Linked DNA regions of Homo sapiens: regions 2, 3, 4 and 5 are each linked to region 1. Evidence: promoter capture Hi-C in 16 types of primary human blood cells and fetal thymus (Javierre and others, 2016). All regions are on one chromosome and are shown on one strand. Each heading gives the region's core, a stretch centred on a gene start or on the middle of the fragment in contact. The rest is flanking DNA. Distances are from core to core; before and after follow the strand shown. Region 1 holds the start of CABLES1 (Cdk5 and Abl enzyme substrate 1). Region 2 overlaps ANKRD29 (ankyrin repeat domain 29). Region 3 overlaps RBBP8-AS1 (RBBP8 antisense RNA 1). Region 4 overlaps RIOK3 (RIO kinase 3). Region 5 holds the start of LOC124904263 (a long non-coding RNA gene).

Evidence for each region. The method cuts DNA at HindIII sites, captures the fragments that hold promoters and counts their contacts. A CHiCAGO score of 5 or more calls a contact.
Region 2: a contact is called between a fragment that was not itself captured here and the fragment with the promoter of CABLES1 in region 1, in 1 of 17 cell types (neutrophils). The highest score is 5.1, in neutrophils.
Region 3: a contact is called between a fragment that was not itself captured here and the fragment with the promoter of CABLES1 in region 1, in 3 of 17 cell types (naive B cells, total B cells and megakaryocytes). The highest score is 5.5, in naive B cells.
Region 4: a fragment that was not itself captured here is called in contact with the fragment with the promoter of CABLES1 in region 1 in 1 of 17 cell types (megakaryocytes); the score reaches 6.4 in megakaryocytes.
Region 5: a fragment that was not itself captured here is called in contact with the fragment with the promoter of CABLES1 in region 1 in 6 of 17 cell types (megakaryocytes, total B cells, naive B cells and 3 more); the score reaches 10.5 in megakaryocytes.

Annotation. Positions count from the first base shown.
Region 1 is chr18:23,132,141-23,137,249 of GRCh38, forward strand. CABLES1 (Cdk5 and Abl enzyme substrate 1) reads left to right here and starts at 3,345. Exons shown (of 10, transcript NM_001100619.3): 1 at 3,345-4,467. The coding sequence starts at 3,623. RefSeq lists silencers at 2,144-2,233, 2,244-2,353, 3,114-3,193, 3,314-3,523, 3,654-3,863 and 3 more and an enhancer at 2,544-2,693. The HindIII fragment of the contact is 5,609 bases long and covers 1-5,109 here.
Region 2 is chr18:23,598,006-23,603,059 of GRCh38, forward strand. ANKRD29 (ankyrin repeat domain 29) reads right to left here. Exons shown (of 10, transcript NM_173505.4): 10 at 921-3,304. The coding sequence ends at 3,221. Among named protein-coding and RNA genes, the nearest start is that of NPC1, 14 kb to the left of the region's middle. The HindIII fragment of the contact is 3,850 bases long and covers 1-3,186 here.
Region 3 is chr18:22,814,863-22,819,782 of GRCh38, forward strand. The region is part of intron 2 of RBBP8-AS1 (RBBP8 antisense RNA 1); the gene reads right to left. All of the region lies in intron 1 of LOC124904263 (a long non-coding RNA gene), which reads left to right. Among named protein-coding and RNA genes, the nearest start is that of RBBP8, 120 kb to the right of the region's middle. The HindIII fragment of the contact is 7,819 bases long and covers 1-4,920 here.
Region 4 is chr18:23,482,710-23,487,466 of GRCh38, forward strand. It overlaps RIOK3 (RIO kinase 3), which reads left to right. Exons shown (of 13, transcript NM_003831.5): 13 at 1-431. Among named protein-coding and RNA genes, the nearest start is that of RMC1, 18 kb to the right of the region's middle. The HindIII fragment of the contact is 1,612 bases long and covers 2,652-4,263 here.
Region 5 is chr18:22,797,347-22,802,396 of GRCh38, forward strand. The region is part of intron 2 of RBBP8-AS1 (RBBP8 antisense RNA 1); the gene reads right to left. It overlaps LOC124904263 (a long non-coding RNA gene), which reads left to right and starts at 884. Exons shown (of 2, transcript XR_007066308.1): 1 at 884-1,141. The HindIII fragment of the contact is 1,500 bases long and covers 1,085-2,584 here.

The sequences.
Region 1 (5,109 bases), core at 2,095-4,594:
GGCAGTTTGGAGATTAGACATTGATTCTTGTTTGATGCTTTAATAAATATTTGAAATTCGTTTCATACTTCACACTTACAGTAGACAAAAGGTTATAGAAAATGAAGGTTATAAAAAATGCATACTGATGGAAACTTTTTGGTATTTTTTAATCGATGTATCATGGTTGTAAATATTTTGGGGGGATGATAGAAACATTTCAATACCCAGCAAAATTGTAAGAAAGCAGACTGAACAACCTTTAAGGATGAAAACCTTAAAAACACGAAATGCCATTTGCCCCAGCATCTATTTAACCTAAGAAAATAATATTGGGTGGTAGCAAGATTTAGAAAAACAAAGGAAGTCATCATTGCTTTATAAGAGCAAAAGTGGAAACCACAAATTTATTAAATGCACAGGTTTAAAAGTGTACAGTCTCTCCATCAAATTGAACACTATGTAGTCATTAAAATAAAAATTCTTCCATGCAGAAAAATATTCTACATGGAAAGATAATCACAACACAGCAGGCAAAAATCACAAGAGACAAAACAGCCTGGCTGGGCGTAGTGGCTCATGCCTGTAATCCCAGCACTTTGGGGGGCCGAGACGGGCGGATCACGAGGTCAGGAGATTGAGACCATCCTGGCTAACACGGTGAAACCCCGTCTCTACTAAAAATACAAAAAAATTGGCGGGGCGTGGTGGCGGGCGCCTGTAGTCCCAGCTACTCGGGGGGGGCTGAGGCAGGAGACTGGCATGAACCCGGGAGGCGGAGCTTGCAGCCTGGGTCAGACAGCAGGACTCCGTCTCAAAAAAACAAAACAAAACAAAACAAAACAAAACAGCCGATTTCACTTTTGTTTAAAAACACACCCAAGGCCAGGTATGACAGCTCATACGTGTAATCCCAGTGCTTTGGGAGGCCACCATGGGAGGACTGCTTGAGGCTGGAAGTTCCAGACCGGCCCGGGCAACATAGTGAGACTTCATCTCTACAAAAAAATTTTTTCTTTTTCTTTTCTTTTTTTTTTTTTTTTTTGAGATGGTGTCTTGCTCTGTCACCCAGGCTGGAGTGCAGTGGCACGATCTCGGCTCACTGCAACCTCCGCCTCCTGGGTTCAAGCCGTTCTCCTGCCCTCCTGCCTCAGCCTCCCCAGTAGCTGGGATTACAGGCACGTACCACCATGCCCAGCTAATTTTTGTATTTTTAGTAGAGACAGGGTTTCACCATGTTGGCCAGGCTGGTCTCGAACTCCTGACCTCGTGATCTGCCTGCCTCGGCCTCCTAAAGTGCTGGGATTACAGGCTTTAGCCACCGTGCCAGGCCAAATTTTTTTAAAAAAATTAGCCAGGTGTGGTGGGTGCCGGTAGTCCCAGCTATTCGCGAGGCTGAGGCAGAGAGAATCGCTTGAGCTCAGGAGTCTGCAGTGAGCTATGATCACACCAGTGCACTCCAGCCTGGGTGACAGGCTAAAAGAATATATATACATATCTCTCTATAAAATATATGAAAATACAAAACAGAAATCAAAATTTAAGTTTTACGTTATTTCCACAGAAGATATTGTTAGTGATACCCCCTTTTTTTTTGCTCCTCTTTGCTTATCTTATGTTCTGAAATTAACATTTATCATTTTTGAATGATGGAAAATATATTTTACAGGAGCACCGTTGGAGTCTTTCACTTAACACTGCCTCCCAACCAGGCCAGTGGTCATGTAAATTAAGTCAATTGTCATAAAAGGGCTTGGAAGTTTCAAGGTAGTTAGCCAAAATAATTAAAATCCTGGTGAAATTTCACAGAGCTGGCCATTGAGCTTTGACTCCACTGACATGAGGCTGCTGTAAACAGACACCAGGCTCCATGTTTTCAAAAGGCCTAAAAACAGCACAAAATAAAATATAACAACGATTGTTCATGTAAAGGGCCACGTGCCATCTCTGTCCTGAGCAAATGTAACCTGAAACCCTCTCTGTCTGGCACTCCGGGTTGGCGGCACCTCTCTGGACGGTGTATTTGCTCTCCATTACTCAATTTACTTTCCTGAACTTGAAATGGAGTGGAATTTCAATGTAGAGTTACCCATTAGCTCCAGGGCTAAATTTAAACCTTTAATTAAATTAATCCGTTGATCTGAAACACATTGCTTCTCCCTCAAAAGTGCAGCAGGTTTCTTAGGTGTCACAGAGCTTAATTCAGTGTGGCAATTGTTCCTTACTGCATTTGTTAAGTTGCCCATACCGCCTGGGGAAACCCGCACACGTTTTCAGATCCCTCCAGGTGAACTCCTCCACCCTGTCCCCGCCCCCGCCCCCACCCCCAACCAAAACAAGCATTCGTTGTGGGTGGGGACTGCGACTCCTCCCAGATTCAGAGCTACTGCTCTGGGAGGGCCGTCAGGAACCCGTATTTATAGAAGACATGGTAGGTGCCAAACGTGCTTATGAGATAAACGACAGGGTAACTGTCCACATTGGTCCCAGTTTATGAGGGAGAAGAGATCATAATCTACAAAAATTTGCAAGGTGACCAGGGGAAAAGAGTGTAAGGTCATTTTAGCCCACCTGGGTCTTCACAGAAAATGGAGCACATTTCAGAGCCAAAGTAAAAAATTTGCGTTGTCCTTTGCTAAGAGAGAGATGAAAAGTGACAATACCATGGATTGGGGATGCGTGAGTTCGTTGGCCACATGTAAGATGTTCGTGCTTCTGGGCTCTTATGCATCCCAAGGCGTGCATTTATCCCGGGGGCTGCATCCTTGGCCTGGGAATGAATAGACCCAACTGCAATGGTTGTTAGCGATAGCTTTACGGTGGGACAGTCTCCATAGGGGCTGTGGACTTACCCGTGTTATTATGAAAAGGATCTATTTACTTCTCGGGGACCAACGGCCTTGCGGGGTCCAAGTAACTCGCTCGCAGTCCAAAACTCTGCAACGCTCCACATAACCGTCCTGTAGACCCACAACTCTCCCAGGAGCACAGCCCCAGGACCTAACCCACCGGGTTCTGCTCGCTCACCCAATTCCCAGTGCGAGCGCGCGGGGGAAACGTGCTCGCCTCCCGCACCTGGCTTCCGCGGCCCCGGGAGTCGCCAACTCTCCCAGCAGGCAGCTCCGACAACCCGGACAGCCGGGCCGATCCCCCGCCCCACCACCCGCTCGGCTCTCGCGTCCTCCTCTTCCTCCTCCCGTGGCCCCTTGCCTCCCGCCGTCTGCCTCTGCGGCCGCCGCCTGCGGCTTTGTTTTCCTCCCAGGTCGCATTCCCCACACGTGATTCCGTGTTATTGCAAAGAGGGCTTTGGAGCGCGAGCGCGGGGCGCGCGCACCTATAAATACGGACACCCGGCCCCGGAGCCCGCGAGCCAGCGGCCAGGCGACCGGCGGGCGGCCAGCCAGCGAGCCGAACTAGCCGAGCTAGGTAGCGAGGCGTGCGCGTGGGCCGGGGCGGCGGCGCCCCCATCCCCAGCACCGAGGGGCGAGCATGGCCCGCCCGCGGGGGGGCTGGACCGCCGCGCACGCCGCCCGATCCCCGCGCCCTACCCAGCCCGGGTCGCCGCCGCTCGCGCCCGCCGCTTAGCGCTCGGGCGCCGCTCGCTTCTCCGGGCATCGCGGAAATCCCGCCGCAGACGGACACAATGGCGGCGGCGGCGGCGGCCGCCACCACGGCCGCCTGCAGCAGCGGCAGCGCCGGCACCGACGCCGCGGGCGCCAGCGGATTGCAGCAGCCGCCGCCGCAGCCCCAGCCTCAGCCCGCGGCCGCCGCGCCGGCCCAGCCGCCGCCCGAACCCCCCCGGAAGCCGCGCATGGACCCGCGGCGCCGCCAGGCTGCCCTCTCCTTCCTCACCAACATCTCGCTGGACGGCCGGCTGCCGCCGCAGGACGCGGAGTGGGGCGGTGGCGAGGAGGGCGGCGCGGCCAAGCCGGGCGCCGGCGGCGCCTGCGGCGCGAGGACTCGGTTCAGCTTGCTCGCCGCTGCCGAGCGGGGCGGCTGCATCGCGCTCGCCGCGCCGGGCACGCCGGCTGCGGGGTTAGCCGCTGGGTCCGGCCCCTGCCTCCCACAGCCCTCGTCGCTGCCGCCCTTGATTCCTGGCGGCCATGCGACCGTGTCCGGCCCCGGGGTGGCGCGGGGGTTCGCGAGTCCCCTGGGCGCCGGCCGGGCGTCGGGGGAGCAGTGGCAGCCGCCCCGGCCGGCGCCTCTCGCCGCCTGTGCCCAACTGCAGCTGCTCGACGGGTCCGGGGCCGCCGGGCAGGAGGAGTTGGAGGAGGACGATGCCTTTATCAGCGTGCAGGTGCCGGCGGCCGCCTTTTTGGGCTCCGGGACCCCCGGGAGTGGGAGCGGCAGTCGGGGACGCCTCAACTCGTTCACTCAGGGAATCCTGCCCATCGCCTTCTCCAGGCCGACTTCGCAGAACTACTGCTCCCTGGAGCAGCCAGGCCAGGGCGGCAGCACCAGCGCCTTCGAGCAGCTGCAGAGGTCCCGGTGAGTATCCGGGATGCGACGCGCACCCAACCCTGCGTCCCGCCCGGCGCTCCCAGCCTCCCCGCGGTCTCTGGGCTACGGGACACGGGTTGCTCCCATTTTCCCGCGCCCTGCCGGATCCTGTGCTCCGGGCCCGAATCCCAAACCACGAGGGCACCCAAAAGAGGGGGCGTCCCCAGGGAGTGCGGGGTTACACGTGTTTGCACGAGCCCAGCATTCGCAGAGGAGCACCGCGCTTGTGCAGTGGGTCGGGAATTGGGAGTTGCAGGAGCCCAGTAGAAAGCGGCGTCCGAGCCTCCCCACACGAGATCACAAACTTCCTGAAACCCGGTCCAGACCCGGAGGCGCACTCTTCCCCGCGTGGGGCGAGACTCGGCCGGGCGCAGAGTGGAGCAGTGCAGGCCGGCAGCTGAGCGGCGCGTGTGAGCCTGAACTTGTAGCAGACACGCGTGACCCTCCGGAGAAGTTCTTGCCTGCGCTCCAAGTCTTCTTGCGGCCCGGGGAAACTTGGCTTTTTCCATTTGCTTTCCTGAGCAATGGAAAGTCCTTCTTACATTGCCTCCAACTAGGCCTAGGGGGGTGGGGAACAAAGAGGAAATAGGGCTTGAGGGATTTTTTTCCTATTCCAAGATGAATTTGCTT
Region 2 (5,054 bases), core at 12-2,511, 460 kb after region 1:
CACTCTATCACCCAGGCTGGAGTGTACCATTGCAGCCTCAACCTCCTGGACTCAAGCCATCCTCCCACCTCAGTCTCCCAAGTAGCTGGGACTGCAGGTGTGAACCACCACCATGTCCGGCTAATTTTTTTATTTTTAGAGAGATGGGCGTCTCACTATGTTGCCTAGGCTGGTCTTGATCTCCTGAACTCAAGTGATCCACCTCGCCTTGGCCTCCGAAAGTGCTGGGTTTACAGGCGTGAGCCACCGGGACTCCTCACCTGGCCACTACCTCTGAAACATCCAGTTCTAGCACCAAAAGCACTTTGTTAGGAAATTAGGAACTCAGCTTCTCACCCCTATAATCTGTAGCCCCCCACCAAAATACAGGCATCTCTGCCTGGTTCTAAGTAGCCTGGTATTTGGGGGCACTCTTTTCCTCTGAGTAGGTGTCTCAGTGTGGGATTTATGAAGAGACGTAGCTTTCTTGTGGCGGCAGAGGGTGGATGGAGCAGATGGAAGCCAGGATGTTCCTGTAAATCTCCATATTCCTGATGTTACTGCTGCAAATTATTGTCTCCTACACCAACAGTTCTGCAAAACCACCAGCTACTTCACAAGAGAAAGTTATTGCAAAGGACTAAAGGGCCAGGAGCATCATAAATAATACAAATCAGAAAATTTTCTATTTTCAGCATCTTAAATAACTGTCCCAAGAATTCTTTTCTGAATGAAAACTTTTTGGAATCATTTCATTCTCTACAGCAGAGATAATGAAATCATAGGTCCATTACTAAAATAAAGTTTAAATATCTATTTAGGGTCCCAAATATCAATATATTTACAGAGTTGAATTATTCACCCTAAAATTCCATGCTACTAAAAATCACATAGCAATAACTCTTGATTAAAAACAAAAAGAAAAAAGCAGCAAAGGCAAATGGGGTAGTATATTAACTTTATTTTGAATTATTATATAACATGGAATATGTCATCAAAGAATGAATTAATGAAAAACGTTTGTAGTTCAGTTAAGCAGATGATTTGCATAGGAATTGCTAGTTTTAAGTCTTAGGATGCGGAGCTAACTGAATTGTCAATTAGATTAACATAGAATAATCATTTACATGTGTGCAAACTAAAATGCAATTTTGAAAATAACACACCTTTCCGTACAGTCTTTGGTAGGTGATGATTCATTTTCCCTGCTATGGGTAATCTCATCTAGATCAAATGTGATCCTTCTAAGCTAGACACCTCTTCCCTACAGTAAGAAGGCCTCCATATTGTTCAAGCTACTGGCTTCAATTTTATGGCTCTAATATTGTTCAAGAACATTACCCACTTAAAACTATTGATGTAATAGGCCAATTACATGTTTTAGTGAAAAACAGTAAGTTTGTGATTCATCCCATTTTGGCTTTTGGAACTTTGTTATCAGTACCCATAACGTTTTGCTTTGTATCAGTGATTAGCAACTATTTTTGCCATAAGGGCTAACTAAGGGGAAAATACAAAGCATTTAATGCCATATTATTTTCCTCTTCAAAATGAATATAGCTTTTTGAAATTCGCACAGGAGAAAATGTATATTTGTACAAATTTGCTGAATAAAAGAATGTCAATGAGGAAATGGCATTGATTTTAGCCACCAAAATGTTTATATCTGGATGTTTTAGCAACAGAGAGCTTTCTAATATTTTATCCTAGAATCAGGTTGCAGGCTTTTTGTATAGCTGGTCAGGCTGTAGGCACCTGTGGGGCCTGTGAGTTGCTCATTTGCTTGAGACATTTATCAAAATATGCTGATTTTTGTTGCATTAATTGTTATAAATTTTAAGAGAATATCTTCTAATTTTGAAGATTATATTCTATTATTTACTGAATTAAAGATAATCCTTTTAGTAACTCTGAAAGTTGGTTAAACAAAAATTCTTTTGGGATTACAACATTTTCCTCTAAAAGTGTCTTTACATAGACACTGACTGAAAACCAGAGCAGAACATGAAGAAATAAGCTAAAGATGTGTTTAAATAGCAGAAATACCATTGCGTTTATTTTGGTAGATTACAGAAAGAAGGTTTTATTTTTGTATGTGCAGTTAGGCACTGACTGAGGCATTTAGACACCATTAATTATAAAGTGCATTGAATATAAGTTTTGATCCCTTTCAAAGGAATAATTCAATAAACCTCATATTTCATTCTTGGAATCAGTCAACTCAAAAACATGCATAGATGAAGACTTACTAAGTGCTAATAACAGTCTTTTATTATTTATATTCCTGCAATAGTAATAGCAACATACTGTACTTGCATATATCACATTTTATCCAAGGACCTCAAAGTCATTCTATCAAGCAGCACGGTGTTGGAAACTCAAGATTCCACAGCATGTTAGGTATACTTACTTATAGAATAGGAAATAGATTCCCAACAATAGAGCCAAAATAAAAGACCAAAGAGACAAGCCTATATATTTCTCGTGGTTTATAAGTTTCTGAATTTCCAAATTTGCCACTGGTATTTTAACCTACCTACAATGTTGACTCTACGTAAAATTGATTTTTACATGTCAGGAATAAGATGAGGATCAACGAACAAATGCACAGTCTGTCTTTTCTATAGTTCAATAGTCCATCTTTGAATAGCACATAATGGAATGTCAGAAGTGGTTTTTTAATAATGTATGTTTACACTTCATTGATTTATAACAATCATGGCTATGGTTCTTGGGTAGAGGAGAATGTTTTATACTGGAATGACATACATATGTAGGTAAAATATGATAGATCTATATATTTTAGCACATCTACATTTAACACAAAAGCAAAAGTGCCTCAATCCATTGAAGGTCAGCTTTTCAGTCTTTTAAAGGAACAAAGCATTCTGTCTCCTTGCTTAGTACTGAGAACCCTGTCCACCTTAGAGTTTAACTGACAGGTCCAAGTTAGCATTGTTGAAAATGAGTTTCTGTGGAATCTGTGAACATGCCAGGCCCCCCGGGAGATGAGTTACAGGACACCATGAGAAGTCCATGGTGAAGGGGCAAGAGGGTCCCTGAGCTGTTTGGTTCTTGACTTCGTGCACAGAGCGTAGCTCTTCTTTGTCAGGGACCCACAGGATGGGCATTCTGGGCATCTTTTTTTTTCATAAAAGAATTTCCAACACTGCTTGAAATGCAATTTCTTTTTGGACAATGTGGTTAAGCTTTCTATCTTTCTGTCAAATATGGAGCTAAGTTAGCTCTTTCTGGGACCTTCTTTACTTCTCAGGAGACGCAATATACGTTCATTTTTGGTTAGTTCTGCCGGAAGTTCATTGGCCTGAAAGAAGAGAAGATGGGCATTAGTGAATCCCCATAGCTGGTGTGGTTTTAGGGACTCCAAAGAGGGGCATTTGACCCACTCTTTCTCCTTCACTAATGAAAAAAATCCACACTGGACTCACTCTTTTATATAAAGGTATTACAAATCTTCTTTAAATGTATAAATATTACTTGTTATATCCTTATCTCATTCTTAGAGACATTTTCCAGCCAGATCCCTTACTAGACTGTAATCTCTTAGGGGGAAGGGTCCAGATCTAATTAATCATTGTATCCTTATCTCCAGCACAATGCCCAGCATGTCTAAAATGTGCTCAATAAGTACCGGTCAAATTAAATGTTATACCTTATATGTATTTTATTATTATTATTTTTTGAGACAGGGTCTTGCTCTGTCACCCAGGCTGGAGTGCAGTGTTGCAATCATGGCTCACTGCAGCGTTGACCTCCCCAGCTCAAATGATCCTCCCACCTCAGCCTCCCGAGTAGCTGGGACCACAGATGTGCACCACTATGCTCGGCTAATTTCCAGAGATGGGGTTTGCCATGTTGCCCCAGCTGGTCTTGAACTCCTCGGTTTAAGTGATCCTTCTGCCTCAGCTTCCAAAGTGTTGGGATTACAGGCATCAGCCACCGTGCCCAGCCTACCTTATATTTATTAATGTATGACATGAGGTAGTCTGCCCACTAAGGACTTGGGACTGAGTCAGGACTCAGCACAGGTGTCTTTTTTTTTGTTTTTTGAGATGGAGTCTCACTTTGTCACCCAGGCTGGAGTGCAGTGGTGTGACCTCGGCTCACTGCAATCTCTGCCTCCTGGGTTCAAGCAATTCTCCTGCCTCAGCCTCCCGAGTGGCTGGGACTACAGGCATGTGCCACCATGCTCGGCTGAATTTTGTATTTTTAGTAGAGATGGGGTTTCGCCATTTAGCCAGGCTGGTCTTGAACTCCTGACCTCAAGTGATCCGCCCGCCTCCGCCTCCCAAGGTGCTGGGATTACAGGTGTGAGCCACCGCGCCCGGGCCAGATATCTTTTGATGAGAAGGCAGAGATAGGAAACCTCCAGAGCATAAGAGACACCCGGGAAAGAAGAGCATTGGTGGCTAACACCTTCCACCTTACTCAGTATCACTCGAAGGCCTTTCTTTTCACATTGCTGCTGAGATACATCCATTAGGCATCTAGTGAACCAGTCCCTACCATTGACAACAGGTGTGATGTGGAAGTGGCTCTCAAACCTGTTGGTTTCAGGACCCTTTATACTCTCAAAAATTACTGAAGAGTCTAACAAATTTTGTTTTTAACTTATTAAAAATGAAAGCTGAGGGCTATGCGCAGTGGCTCACACCTGTAATGCTAGCACTTTGAGAGGCTGAGGTGAGAGGACCACTTGAGCTCAGGAGTTGGAGACCAGCCTGGGCAACATAGTGAAACCTCATCTCTATTATTTAGAAAGAAAATATTTTCAAAAAGAAAAAAAAAAGAAATTAAAACTGAGAAAATTTTAAAAATATATTTATTAATTCACTAAAAATAATAAATCCAAGTTAATATAGTTATGAAAAATTAAATTTTCAAAAACAAGTAAAAATTCTCAGAAGAGTAGCACTGCTCAACAGCTTTACATATTTCTTTCATGTGTAGCTTAACAGAATACAATTGGATTCTCATATCTCCATCTGTATCCTGTCTATTGTGATATGCTGTTTTGGTAGAAGGATATAAAGAAAATTAAGCTTCACACAGAT
Region 3 (4,920 bases), core at 950-3,449, 320 kb before region 1:
TCTTTAGTTCTCCATTATATAAGTCATGAAACTGTCTTTATGAATGGCTGCACCTGGAAGTTTGATGCCTGAAGGTTTTTTTATGTAAACTGGATTATATTTAAGTAAAGATATCCACCCCATAGCTGCAAAGGACTGTCATCAGTGAAAGGAGAAGTTAAAAAAAAATAGAAAAAAATATATATATAGGTAGATATAAATTATTGGTAATATTTTAGTTCTCGAATGAGTAGCATCCATTATATTCTAAAAGCATAAATAAGCAAATAAAATAAGAAGGCCATTCATGAAACAATGACAATAATATTTTATGAAGCAAGGACTATAATTAATCCAATTCTATGTACTTAAATAAATAAACAGAATAAGTCAAAGGTAGCATAACATTCCACATCCATGTGACCCAATGCCTAAACATCTGCCTGTAACTACTCAACTCAGTCCTGGGAAATAACGTGGGCAAAAATAATTCAGAATCAGGATGTCTGGTTCTCCCACATTGGTGGGAACTTGAGTGAGGAACAGTCACGCTGATAATCTTTTTTTTTTTTTTTTTTTTTTGATACAGAGTCTCGCTCTGTTGCCAGGCTGGAGTGCAGTGGTGCAATCTCGGCTCACTGCAACCTCTGCTTCCCAGGTTCAAGTGATCTTCCTGCCTCAACCTCCTGAGTAGCTGGGACTACAGGCACGTGCCACCACGCCCATCTGTATTTTTAGTAGAGACGGGATTTCACCATGTTGGCCAGGATGGTCTCGATCTCTTGACCTCGTGATCTGCCCGCCTTGGCCTCCCAAAGTGCTAGGATTACAGGCATGAGCCACTGCGCCCGGCTGCATGCTGATAATCTTACAAGGCTTCAGGTCAGAGTAAGGGGACAGGTGCCTCCTTCCTGAGGAATGAAAATGTGCAAGGATCAGAAGAAACATCAGAAGTCATGTCCTGGTGTTATGGGATCTTTGGGGTGTCAATTTTCTGGCCAGAAACCTCTGTGGCCACAGCACCTTTGCCCAAGCTCTTGTCCTGAATCCAGGAAGAATGAAGTATGCAGACAAGTGAAGGGTGAACAAGACAAAAATGAGCTTTACTGAGTGTTACAACAGCTCAGAGGAGACCTGCAGTGGGTAGCTCCTCTCTGTAGGCAGGTCATCTATGGAGTTTTCAGTTCTCAGCAGAGAGGTGGCCCTGGAGAGGATAGCTCCTCTCTGCAACTGGTCATCCTGATGTCTGCAGCTCTGCAGCTCTCCCCCAGAGAGGAGGCCCTGGAGATGACGGCTCCTCTCTGCCAGCAAGTCGTCTCTGCAGCTCTCAGCAGAGAGGATAACTCCTCTCTGCAACTGGTCATCCCATCATCTGCAGCTATCAGCAGAGAGAATAGCTCCTCTCTACAGCTGGTCGTCCCATCCTCTCTTTCTCTCCCCTCTTTGTTCCTCTGGCCATCCTCTGCCCTGCTCTGGCTGAGCCCAGGGCTTTTATGGACCTCAGAGGGGAGGAAGTGTGTGCCTATTGGTCCATGGGCAGCCATGGGTGGTCCAGAAGAGGCACCACGAGTCCCCACTCCCATCCACAGGACTGGCAGCCCAGATCCAAGCCTTCAGGCCCTTCCCAGCCTGAAGGTGGGGCCTTAATGCGGGCTGCCCCCTTCCACCCAGGACTCTGCCTCTCGCTGCCATTCAAGGCCCAGGGCTCGGCCCCAACCCCACTCAGATATCCCAGCAGACACTGGGAAAGGAGAAGGGAGGGTTTTTCCTGGGGCCCCCAAGGTACAGGCTGCAGGGATGCCAGGGTCCTCCTGCGCCTAGGAGAGCGGGAGCTCCAGCCCCATCAACTCGGAAATGGGCTGGGCTCCTGCTTGTCCCGGCTCCTGCTCCATGAAACAGGAGGCCCAGGTCTGCAGCCTCGGGTCTGGCTGCTGCAGCTGCACCCAGGAGGGCAGATCCTGCCTGTTTCCGGCCCCCACCCAAGATCACTGGGAGGCTCCGATCCATAGCTGCAGTTTGGGTGGCTATAGCCCCACCCAGGAGGGCAGGTCTTCTGCCTGCTCCATAGAGCAGGAGGCCTGGGTCTGCAGCCACAATTCGGGCAGGGGCAGCGGCACCGAGGGAGCTCCCACCCCAACTCAGAAAGGGCGTGGCTCCCACCCGCTCCATGGAGTGTGCAGCCCCAGCTGCTCCTCCCTGCTGCAGCCGACGTGATGGCAGCAGCCACTGCCATCACTGGAAGAATGCCAAGTTCAAAGTCTGGAGCTTCTACAGCAGCACCTTAAGCAAGAGAGTTATACAAAGGTCAGTGATCCCAGTATGAGGTCAGGAGAGTAAAGAACAGATATAAGGCATCCTCCCTGCAAGAGACCCTCTACAGCCAGACCCTAGGAGTATAATGGCAAAAACTTGGGACTAAAGGTAAGCTATAGAGAGACATGGCTCAGAAGATGAGAAAAAGCATTCTCTAGCTTTGCTCAAGGTTCACAAGCAAACATTTTCTGTATCAATCCTTGATGTTAAAGGCCTTCTTAAAACAAAAGAGCATACTTTAGTTCTTTCAGTAAGTACAGTGTGATAATACAATCTAATACCTTTGATTCATTATTGGGAGCATTCATCTATTTATTCAGCCAACATTTACCTATTCTGTTCTTGGGACTGTGTTATGCATCAGTGTCAGTGTAAGGAAAATAGAATGGAGCCACAGAAGTTAAACAACATTGGACCTTATTTGTTGTTATCCTCCAAATGGGCTCTGAATGTGACTTTAATATCTCTGATAAGAGCCTTTCCTAGGGACATTTTCCTAGTAACAATTTTAAGTGTTTAAGATAATGTACATTAAAGTGTCTGGCCAGACATGTGGTAACATGTGGCTCTAGCTTGTGATCCCAGCACTTGGGGAGGCCAAGGCAGGAGGACTGCTTGAGACCAGGAGTTTGAGACCAGCCTGGACAACAAGTGAGATCCTGACTCTAACAACAAAAGCAACAACAACAAATGTCTACTGATTTGGCAGTCCTGGTTAATTTAGGATCTATTACATTTCCTGTACTGTACTTGTCCCAAATGTAAAAGCCTAAAAACTCCTACCTTCATTACACTGACTTCTTGCCAGCAGGGCACCCGACCCCCCTTCCCAAGACTCTAGAATGCTACAGATGCTAATAATAATGCCTTGAAGTCCAAAACAAACACATTAGCAAGGTCCTGGAAGTGTGCAATGAAAGCTACTAGGGACTTTCCATCCTGTCAAGCAAATTCATCATAGCCCAGTCAGTTATCAGGTTAAGCATAATTCTTTGATGAGCTTGTTAAAGGAAAATAAGTAAATTGGAGGCTATTCAAAGTCAGGGGCTGTGTTCTCAACTTCTTTGTAATTCCCCACAGTAAACTAGTATAATGCTTGGTTGACAGTTATTCCTCAATTAACAATTAGCTTTTGTTGATTTATCCCTTTTATTTTTCAAGCATAGAATAAGGGATAATGGGAGTTATATGAACAACAGGATATTCTTGACACACTTTCCTAGAACATCAAATTCACTCAAAGATTTGGAGACATAAGACATTTTTTTTTTAAAGTACAATGCAAGAATCTAAATGAATTTTTAAAATATGAAACAAAGACAATCCACACTTATGGCTGGGTATCTGAAGACATACCTTCAGGCCCCAGGTGATGATTGTCACTTTTTCTCTTTAGTGGAAAAATCTGCAGCAGACTGCTTGATGCCTGGTCACACACACACACACACACACACACACACAGAATTTGCCTCCCCCTCCACCCAAAAAGCATATATTTAAACCTACAAATTCTACTTTTAGGAACTTACCATAATAAATAAGAATGCAAACACAAACGATAGCAGCTGTTCACCTATAATTACTTTTATAGTAAAAAATGTTGAACATTGTAAATGTCGCTCATTTAGAGAATGGTAAAACAAATTATGGGAATGCCATCTAATGAAATTCTATTTAAAATAATGGTGCAGATCTACATTTATTAACATTAAAAGATGTCCACAATATGCTAAATGAGCAAATTTAAAAATAAATAAGATCTCAATTTGTTTTAAAATAATGTTTAAAAGATATGTGTATGTGTAACCATGTATACACATATTCAGAAAAAAGTCTGTAAGGCTATGTAACAAAACAATAACTCTTTCTGAGGGCTAGACCTACAGGTGATTTTTTCTTTTTTGTACTTTTCTATAAACATAATTTCTTACATGAACATAAGGTAATTTTAAAAATGAAGCTATTAAAGAAATTTATATAATACAAAAAGTATAAAGAAAGAAAAAAAATTATTCCCAAATCTTGCCTTCTAAAAATAATCATTTTTTAATAGCTAAAAATAACTGATTCATTTTATTTATTTATTTATTTTTTTAATGGTAACCACAAAATACACTTTTTTTTTCTGGTTTTAGTTCTTTTTTTTTTTCTTTTTTTTGTTTTCTTTTTTTTTATTATACTTTAAGTTTTAGGGTACATGTGCACATTGTGCAGGTTAGTTACATATGTATACATGTGCCATGCTGGTGCACTGCACCCACTAACTCGTCATCTAGCATTAGGTATATCTCCCAATGCTATCCCTCCCCCCTCCCCCCACCCCACAACAGTCCCCACAGTGTGATATTCCCCTTCCTGTGTCCATGTGATCTCATTGTTCAATTCCCACCTATGAGTGAGAATATGCGGTGTTTGGTTTTTTGTTCTTGTGATAGTTTACTGAGAATGATGATTTCCAATTTCATCCATGTCCCTACAAAGGACATGAACTCATCATTTTTTATGGCTGCATAGTATTCCATGGTGTATATGTGCCACATTTTCTTAATCCAGTCTATCATTGTTGGACATTTGGGTTGGTTCCAAGTCTTTGCTATTGTGAATAATGCCGCAATAAACATACGTGTG
Region 4 (4,757 bases), core at 2,208-4,707, 350 kb after region 1:
GATTGGAACCACTAAAGATCCAAACTTTCTGTCTGGTAATAGAAAGTAAAAATCTAGACATCATTTACATTTGAGAAAGCTGTTTTTAACATTATTTTAAAATGCCAAATATGTTCTTTCTAGAAAAATATTTATTTTTGTTTTTGTTGGATAGCTTTTAATTACATTTCAGAGAGGTGTAATTTTGGGTAGATGCTCATTACATTTTTGAAAGGTTTATGATTCCAAAATAAAGATTTATATGACTGGTGATACTGGCTTTACAGAAATTTCAGAGAACTAATTTTTAAAATCTTTAGCATTTAAAACTTTTTTTGTTTTGTTTTCTGACATATTCTGACAAAGAGCAGCAAACCACTGCTGTGTGGCATTCTTGGAGTGTGCTGTGAATGTGCTTTTTAAGAAATTAAAAAGAGATCATTTTAAAATTGGTTCTTTGTGTGGTATCTTCCTGTTCCTTATATTAACTTATGTCCTGGTACCAAGTTGCTGTTTCTGTATAAAGTTAAGCAATGCTATTTTAAGTAGATTATTCCCCCTCAACTTCTCATTGTTAGATTTCAATCGCAAATGGCCTACTTCACATTACAAATAGGTTCCCCCCCTCACACCTTGTAGATTAGAGAGTAGATTTTTTTCCCATAGTAGAAAAAGAAAGTGAAAAATACTGGTTTGCTAAGTAAATAAAAAATCAAATACTGGCTGGGCGTGGTGGCTCACACCTGTAATCCCAATACGTTGGGATGCTGAGGCAGGATGATCACTTGAGCCTAGGAGTTTGAGATCTGCCTGAGCAGCATAGCAGACCTCATCTCTACAAAACATTAGGTGAGTGTGGTGGCATGCATCTCTGGTCCCAGCTACTTGGGAGGCTGAGGCAGGAGGATTCTTAGAGCTCAGGAGATCAAGCCTGCAGTGAGCTATGGTCACACGACTACACTCCAGCCTGGGTGATAGATAAAGACTTGGTCTCAAATAAATTAATAAAATGAAAATATATAAAATACGGAAATAGGGATATTTTGTCTCACATTAAGTTATCAAAATAAGGATGACTAGATAACTTTTATTTCAACAAGATAATTACCAGTTTTCTTTTCATAAAAATTAGTTTTTCTTGCTTACAAAAGTAAGTCATTTATTTGAATTTAAATATTGTAGGAATTCAGAAATGTTCAAGTAAAAGTCCCTCGGCCAGGCGCAGTGGCTCAGGCCTGTAATCCCAGCACTTTGGGAAGCCGAGGTGGGCAGGTCACCTGAGGTCAGGAGTTTGAGACCAGTCTGGCCAACATGGTGAATTCCTGTCTCTACTAAAAATACAAAAATTAGCCGGGTGTGGTGGCACATGCCTGTAATCCCAGCTACTTGGGAGGCTAAGGCAGGAGAATCACTTGAACCCAGGAGGCAGAGGAGCTGAGATGGTGCCACTGCACTCCAGCCTGGGCAACAGAGCAAGACTCTGTCTCAGAAAAAAAAGTAAAAGTCCTTCATATTCCAAAGACCATTGTTTATAGTGTGGCATACATCCCTGCAATTTTTTTCCCCTCAGCATATGGTATTTCCTTTTTTAAAAAACCTTTGAACAAAAAGCAGGATGAAGCGAGGCAGCTGATGGGGAAATGTTGAGCACGGGAGACTCTAAGGAAGATGAAGACAATAGGCCCTAAGATGTGTTAGGAGTACATTTCTTACTGCTCATTTGGGCTCCGGGCATCAGAAGAGATTGTTTTCTGCACCTTTTGAAATTCCAAGCTCTATAGGAGCAGAGAAAAGCTCATCTGATTATATTTTCAAACCTTGATCCTTAGGTTTTTGAAGACAATATTTTTCTATTGGATTTTTGTCAGGATTACATAAAAATAAGTTATCAAAGTGTGTTTTATACTTGGAGACATCAGTTTACTAATTTGAAAGCCTCTTGTTTTTATTCTTTTCCGATTTGTTTCCAGTGTAAAAATAATACAAGGTTGCATTTGGAACAGCATTACTTTTACCATCCTAAGCTTTCCAACTTTCTCCCAGACTTGGCTAGCTTTTTGAGGAGTTAAGATCAAATTCGGTAGATAAGAAAGTGGCAGATGGAGGGGTGGGGAAGGTGGGGTATTCATTACAGAATACATGAGTGAGCTACTACAGATAGCTCTATAAACTTGAGGGAAAAAAATCTGCCACAGGTCTCGGCAGCTTGGGTGGTGGGAGGAGCGGCAGCAGCTGGTGAGCCCAGCTTCCAGAAGGCTCTGGTTTCGCCATTGCCCGTAGGCACCCGGCAGGCCCCCTCCCCACCACCAACATGCCCAGGAGGAAGGTCAGCTCAGTCAAGAGGGCTGTGAAGGAAAAGCCCAGGAGGAGATGGGCACAGTTGTCCCCTAACCCTGCTCCTGCAAAAGTAGAAACGAAGCCAAAAAAGAAGGCAGCAGGAAAGGACAAACCTTCAGACCTAAAAGTGCACACAAAAGGGAAAGGGGGAGCAAAGGGAAAACAGGCTGAAGCTTGAGTCCCTGCCCACCTCCATTCCTATCTTGTCTAGCATGTTTAATTGGCAATAAGTTTTTTTGACTCTAAGTCTCTTGGCCATAGGGGTCCCACTAGGGGACATGAAGGACCCAGGGCCTGTAGCATGCCACCCCAGCATCAATATGGGCCAGAATGAAAGCTTGGCCATCAACACTGCCTCTGGGATGCGTTGACAAAAAAAGAGAAAATATAAACTAAAAAAAAAAAAAAAAAAAAAAAATTAGAAGCCCCCAACAGAATGGATCTCTCTCTTGGCCAAAGGGAATCCAAACAACAACCGAAACAGCCTGAAAACCTAGTTCAGGTCATGACAGGAAGCTGGGAGTCAGTCACGCCTCGCCATACCTTCCCCCACTTTGGAATTCAGGCACAGCTGACCAAGCAAAAGGGCTTCACACCTTTGGAAAGGAAAACCTTTTGGCCGATTCCAAAGGGAATGCGTTAAGGCTGCTCTACTTTCTGTTACCTGGTTTTACCACTTTTAGGCCCATTAATGGTGATCTTATTGTTAGTATTTGGCCCATTGGGCCGAGCATGATGGCTCACACCTGTAATCCCAGCACTTTGGGAGGCTGAGGCGGGCAGATCATGAGGTCAAGAGATTGGGACCATCCTGGCCAATATGGTGAAACCCTGTCTCTACTAAAAATACAAAAATTGGCTGGGCATGGTGGCACGCGCCTGTAGTCCCAGGTACTCAGGAGGCTGAGGCAGGAGAATTGCTTGAACCTGGGAGGCGGAGGTTGCAGTGAGCCGAGATCACACCACTGCACTCCAGCCTGGTGACAGAGTGAGACTCTGTCTCAAAAAATAAATAAAATAATAATAATAAAAATATTTGGCCCATGCGTATTCAACTTCCTTATAAAGTTTATATCTTCTAGGTTACAGCAACTCCATGTAAAGATGATGGTGATGCAAGGATTTCAGCCAATTCCTGTCTCAGCATGGGACTCTCCTGCTAATGCAGCCTGGGATCCTTAGACCAGCAGCCAGAGATTTCCAATCCTTTGGTAGGCAGGGCCAGCGCCCTTAAATCAGCAAGAAGACGACACAGATGACTGACCTCCTCCCTCATCAACCCTTAAGAATAAGGGATGGAAATCTCTGAAGGGGGAATGAGATAGGAAGATCACTGGGTGCTCGCAAGAGGATGGAAGAATCCACACAAGAGCTTAAACAAGAGCTAGGCAAAGAAACTGTGGGATAACAGAAAACCCAAAATCAGGAGGAGAAGGCTGGGTTTGGTGGCTCATGACTGTAATCCCAGCACTGTGGGAGGCTGAGGAGGGCAGATCACCTGAGGTCAGGAGTTCGAGACCAGCCTGTGCAATATGGTGAAACCCCTTCTCTACCAAAAATACAAAAAAAAAAAAAAAAAAATAGCTGGGCATGGTGGCATACGCCTATAGTCCAGCTACTCGGGAGGATCACCTGAGCCCAGGAGACAAAGGTTGCAGTGAGCCGAGATCACGCCACTGCACTCCAGCCTTGGCAACAGAGACAGGGTGACATGTCCATGACTCTTCAGTGCAAACCCAAATCAGGGAGAAAGGGGGTGGTACCTGGGGGTGTGGGACAGTGGGGGGTCCCTGAAATCCCCCCTCTTCCAAAATACCTAATGATTATTTCACCCCCTAATTAAAGAAACACCCATAAAATTAGAAACCCAAACTCCCTCTGTGTGACTCATTCTCACAAACATGCCTGCACTTCTCTCTTCAGTGCATACTATCACTTTGCAATAAAAGCTTTTTGCCTTTCCCTTCATTCTGACTTGTCCCTGAATTCTTTCTCGAAAAGGTGTCAAGAACCTGGAAACCAACTGGGGCGGGGGTCTTACCAGCATCTGCAGACCCTCCTGAAACTTCTGGAAACCATAGGGGGAAAAAAGCAGAAATCACCCACAGTACAAGACAATCACCATATACATTACTCCTGACACTTGTTATATACATATGTACATGCAAATGCAAATGTAGAAAGAAACATGCATTCAGGCCCGGCACGGTGGCTCACGCCTGTAATACCAGCACTTTGGGAGGCCGAGGCGTGTGGATCACCTGAGGTCAAAAGTTCAAGCCCAGCCTGGCCAACATGGCAAAACCCCATCTCTACTAAAAATACAAAAATTAGCTGGGCATGGTGGCAGGCACCTGTAATCCCAGCTACTTGGGAGGCTGAGGCAGGAGAATCACTTGAACCCGGGGGGTGGAGGTTGCAGTGAGCCGAGATCGCACCAC
Region 5 (5,050 bases), core at 585-3,084, 340 kb before region 1:
CATAAAAGGATAGCATGAGTTAGTATTTTGGGTGATAGAACTATTCTGTATCCTGATTGTGATGGTTATTGCATGAATTTATATATGTTAAAACCTCTAGAGCTAAAACTCTCCCCAAAAAAGTCAATTTTGTTGTATATTAATTTAAAAAATTAAAAGATGGTGTTAGATTCTAGTTAGGGAGCAAGAGTATCAGAAAAGGACATTTATGTAAACCTAAGTGTACTACAAGCCGAGATCATTACCAGTTATAACTAGGATATAGCGATTGTCTATTTAAGGGAAAGAATTTTTTTTTAAGTAATGGAACTACGGTTAACCTTACAAACTTCAAAATAGTAAAATACGTAAAGAGAAATTAACACTAGCCTGTGAATCTGGTAGTGGGAAGAAGATTCACTGGCGGAGGAATAAGGAGTCCTGCTCAAATATCAGACTCCAGAGCACATCAAATGGAGCCTGAGCCTGAAGATGAGTGTAACGACAGAAGAACGTGAGCAAGAGTCAGATCTGAAGAATGGAGAGGCATTTCTTCACTGTCTCCCCTACTCCTTTTTTTTTTTTTTTTTTTTTTTTTTTTTTTTTGAGACGGAGTCTCGCTCTGTCGCCCAGGCTGGAGTGCAGTAGCGCGATCTCGGCTCACTGCAAGCTCCGCCTCCCGGGTTCACGCCATTCTCCTGCCTCAGCCTCCGGAGTAGCTAGGACTACAGGAGCCCGCCCACCATGCCCGGCTAATTTTCGTATTTTTAGTAGAGACAGGGTTTCACCGTGTTAGCCAGGATGGTGTCGATCTCCTGACCTCCTGATCCGCCTGCCCAAAGTGCTGGGATTACAGGTGTGAGCCACCGCCCCTGGCCTTTTTTTTTTTTTTTTTTTTTTTTTGAGACAGAGTCTTGCTCAGTCGCGCAGGTTGAAGTGCAATGGCGAGATCTCGGCTCACTGCAACCTCCGCCCCCCAAGTTCAAACGGTTCCCCTTTTGAAGAGAGCAATTCAGAGGGCCATTAACTATATAAGCACAAGAAAAGTCCAAAGATCCTGGAGCTACCTAGGGAACAGAGCTCCAAAGAAAGCCTCCTGCGTGGAAGCTTCCCTGAGGAAGAGCTGATAACACCTTAAACCTCCTCTGGATTCAAGTTAAAGGTGAGAGGGAAATTTTCCAGTGGAATCCTGCCCAGCAGTTAATTACAAATGGCAAATTTTAAATCATCTCTGCTTTGGTGTTCTGTGTTAGAATGGAAATGGAGATGGACAAACTGTTTACTTCTTTCATTTACTTTGTAGCGCTGGGGTGAGGGGACTCTAGGCTGTTTTGTTTCAAGGAATTGTTTAAACTTTTTATTAAATTTTATTTTAATCAAGACGGAGTCTCGGTCTGTCACACAGGCTGGAGTGCAGTGGCGCTAGCTCGGCTCACTGCAACCTCCGCCTTCTGGGTTCAAGCGATTCTCCTGCCTCCCGGGTTCAAGTGATTCTCCTGCCTCAGCCTCCCGAGTAGCTGGGATTACAGGCGCTCAACACCATGCCCAGCTAATTTTTGTATTTTTAGTAGAGGTAGGGTTTCGCCATTTTGGCCAGGCTGGTCTGGAACTCCTGGCCTCAAATGAGCCTACTGCCTTGGGCTCCCAAAGTGGTGAGATTACAAGCGTGAACCACTGCATCCAGCTCAGATTTTCAAAGTGAGGGTAAATTCTAGGAAATAAAACAGAAGATTATAGAGGTGAATAATTTAAGAATTTTAATTAATGCATAGAAAATAATAGTGCATAGTGCTGGTGTCTTAGAATATGTTTACTATTCTTTGAATATTTATTTCTGAAATTCGTCCCTTCATTTGACAGAGCTGTATGTGGATTACTACAAATGTCCACCAGAGGGAGACTCAAGACTGAGTTTTCCCCTTGGGGTTCCTTCAGGTTTAATTAGTACTTGGGCCAAAATCTCTACCACATGTTGTTATAGGGAGGCAATCCAAGACGGCGAAGAGATTTATGGTTCTGGAATGAGATAAAAGGATAAATAAAGGGATGGTTCTATCCTTAAACATCCCTGCTTTTTCTCTGGGGCTTGGGTCACTTTCTCTTACTGATCCTCTGAGGTTTGCAAAACTGAGTTATTTGTCTGCTTTTGAAAGCAAAGCCCTTAGGATTCCTGGCACTATCCACGCTGAAAAAAACCGTAGGAATACTCCCACCCACTAGCAAAGAAATGTGTCATTCAACTCACAGGAGGCATTTACTAAATTCAGGAGATCCCTCCAGGGATTATAATGTTCTGCCAGAGCCAAAGGCAATCTAGTCCCAAGCCATACCATGGAATTTGGTAGAGGATGGTTTTAGTCTTCCCTGAAGTCTTCATTTGTTAGTTCATTCAACAAAGAGGAAGACTTTATTAAGAGGCAGGTATTGTTTCACTTTTTAAAAGATATCTCTAATTATAGGAAAAATCTAATAATGAAATGAATTTATCATTAACATGCAAAAGCTGTTCTAAAACAGATTTCTGAATAGAACATGTTGTTGGTATAGTTTACATTTGAGATTTTAGGAAACACTTTTATATCACCTATTATGTGCAAAGGGGAAAAGCTTTTTGACAAACAGATATTAACATAGAAGTACAACTATGAGGCACTGCTGTGATTTTCCTTTTCAGAGTTTTGTTTTTTAATAAATCAGACATAGATGGTTGCACAATTACTTTCTATTCATGATCACCTAATTTCCCACATTAAGCCCTGAAACCAAATCTTGAAAATGAAAATAAAATTAGACTGCAACCTGCCACCCACTAGGGAACAAACACCTCTACATGCCTTGGCTACAAATTTAACAATAAAAAAAGACTTTAAATCCCACTTTAATATCTAGGACTTGGGGGTCTGGGGTCAGGTAAAAGCAGGGTAATAGCAAAGGAGTGATTTTTCCCTTACTTCTAGGTTAAGCAGGCTGGTTGTACGGGGAAGCAGTGACTGGTAAAGAGTTAAAGCTCACAGAGTTAACTCACTGGTTAAGAGTTAAAGCTGGTTAAGAGTACCAGCTCACAGATTTGCAGTGAGAAAGAACCCAAGCTCTTAGCATCCTTTTCCTTGGGCTCTAAATCAGTTGTGGGAAACAGTGAAAGGTAACATACAGGACAGGATTTTTTTAGCGAGATCACCTTCAGCCATGGTTTCTGATGCAAAATGTTCTCCCGCCAGCACCCAAGACCATAGATGCTGTGGCGGTGGTGGCAGCAAACACTGGGCATGCTTGGACGGGCAGCCACAGGGTTGCCACGGTCTCGGCAGGGTCTAGTAGACAGAGGTCTTGTGATATCTGCTGGGAGTCATGGGAACAAGTGGGAATTTATCTTTGGTTCCAGAGAACATAAAATGACCCATTTCTTCCAGTTGCGCAATAAAAGAGAAACTTAAGAAGGAAAAATGAACCAGTATAAAATGTAAACTTAGCTGTGTCTGTTTTGGTCCTAGAGGAGCAAAGGTGATTGGATTGACTGCAGAGACTATGACACCTCGCCATTTCCTCTTGTCCATAAACAGACACAGAATTGCAAGAACTTTTACGGCCAAAGGTTAATCATAGAAAGGGATTGGTTTCCATCTCCAAGAAACAAATCCGTACCAGAAATCTGATGACATGTTCCTGGATGGACCATAAAAACCATTTTCCTAAATAACATCAGCTGACTCTCTGGATTCTATCTTTGGGACTATCCTCAAATTCATTAGGGAAATCATTATATTGAATCAGTTTAATTTTACCAGGGTATCACACCATTTGCAAAGCTATGTCATACAATCACATAGTCAGTATGGATGAAAATACTATTAATTAGAGATAAGCATTTGTCCAAGAACTTGCTGTAATAGGATCTTGTGGGGATTTATCAAATCTTGTGAGGATTTATCGTAGTCCTTTGCCAATCAGAAACACAAAATAGATTTAGATGTAAAAATGGAGTTCTCCATCTTACAGGAATAGGTCCTTGTGACTTTTTCTTTCTAAGAAAAAAAATGAGCTCATTTCATTATTCTCACCCTCCTCTCCTGTTTAAAGAAATCTGATCTGGTAGGAAATAACAAGCAATGAGCCTTAAATTTTAGTATTATCTTTTTAAGAGTTTCTTAAAATTGCCTTTTGAAAGTAGTTCAGGCTTAGGCCCAAAAATAATTATACTTAGGTCATAAAAACAGAATTTCTAATATGCAAAATTCTTTTAGAAAATCTTTTAAAACATAATAACCATGTAAACCTTACTCTCCATTTCTTTATGAAGAATGGAAATTAAACATGATAAAATAATCTAATTTTGGCCAGGCACAATGGTGTTTGCCTGTAATCCCAGTGCTTTGGGAGGCTAATGTGGGAGGATCACTTGAGCCCAGGAGTTCAAGACAGCCTGGGCAACACAGCAAGACCCTGTCTCTACAAAATATTTAAAAATTAGCCTGGCATGCTGGTGCATGCCTGTAATCCCAGCTACTCAGGAGGCTGAGGCAGGAGGACTGCTTGAGCCTAGGAGTTCAAGGTTACAGTGAGCTATGATAGTGCCACTGCACTCATGCCTGGGCAACAGTATGGCCCTATCTCTTAAAAAAAAAAAATCGAATTTCTTCACAATCAACTTTTGAATGACTTCTTAAATGACAAAATAGGCTGGGTGCAACGGCTCATGCCTTAATCCCAACACTTTGGGAAGCTGAGGCAGGAGAATTGCTTGAGGATAGGAGTTTGAGAGCAGCCTGGGCAACAGAGGAAGACCCCATCTCTACAAAAAATACAGAAATTAGCCAGGTTTGGTGGTGCATGCCTGTAGTCCCAGCTACTTGGGAGGCTGAGGTGGGAGGATCACTTGAGCCCAGGAGGTCAAGGCTACAGTGAGTCATGATCTTGCACTCCAGCCTGGGTGACAGAACGAGACCTTGTATCAAAAAAAATTAAAATAAAATAAGTGACAAAATATATTTATCTTATAGCTTAATATATTTGTGTTTCCTAATGGAAAAGTTGTAAGATAAAGTCCCACAGGAATGAATTCTAGAACGGCTCT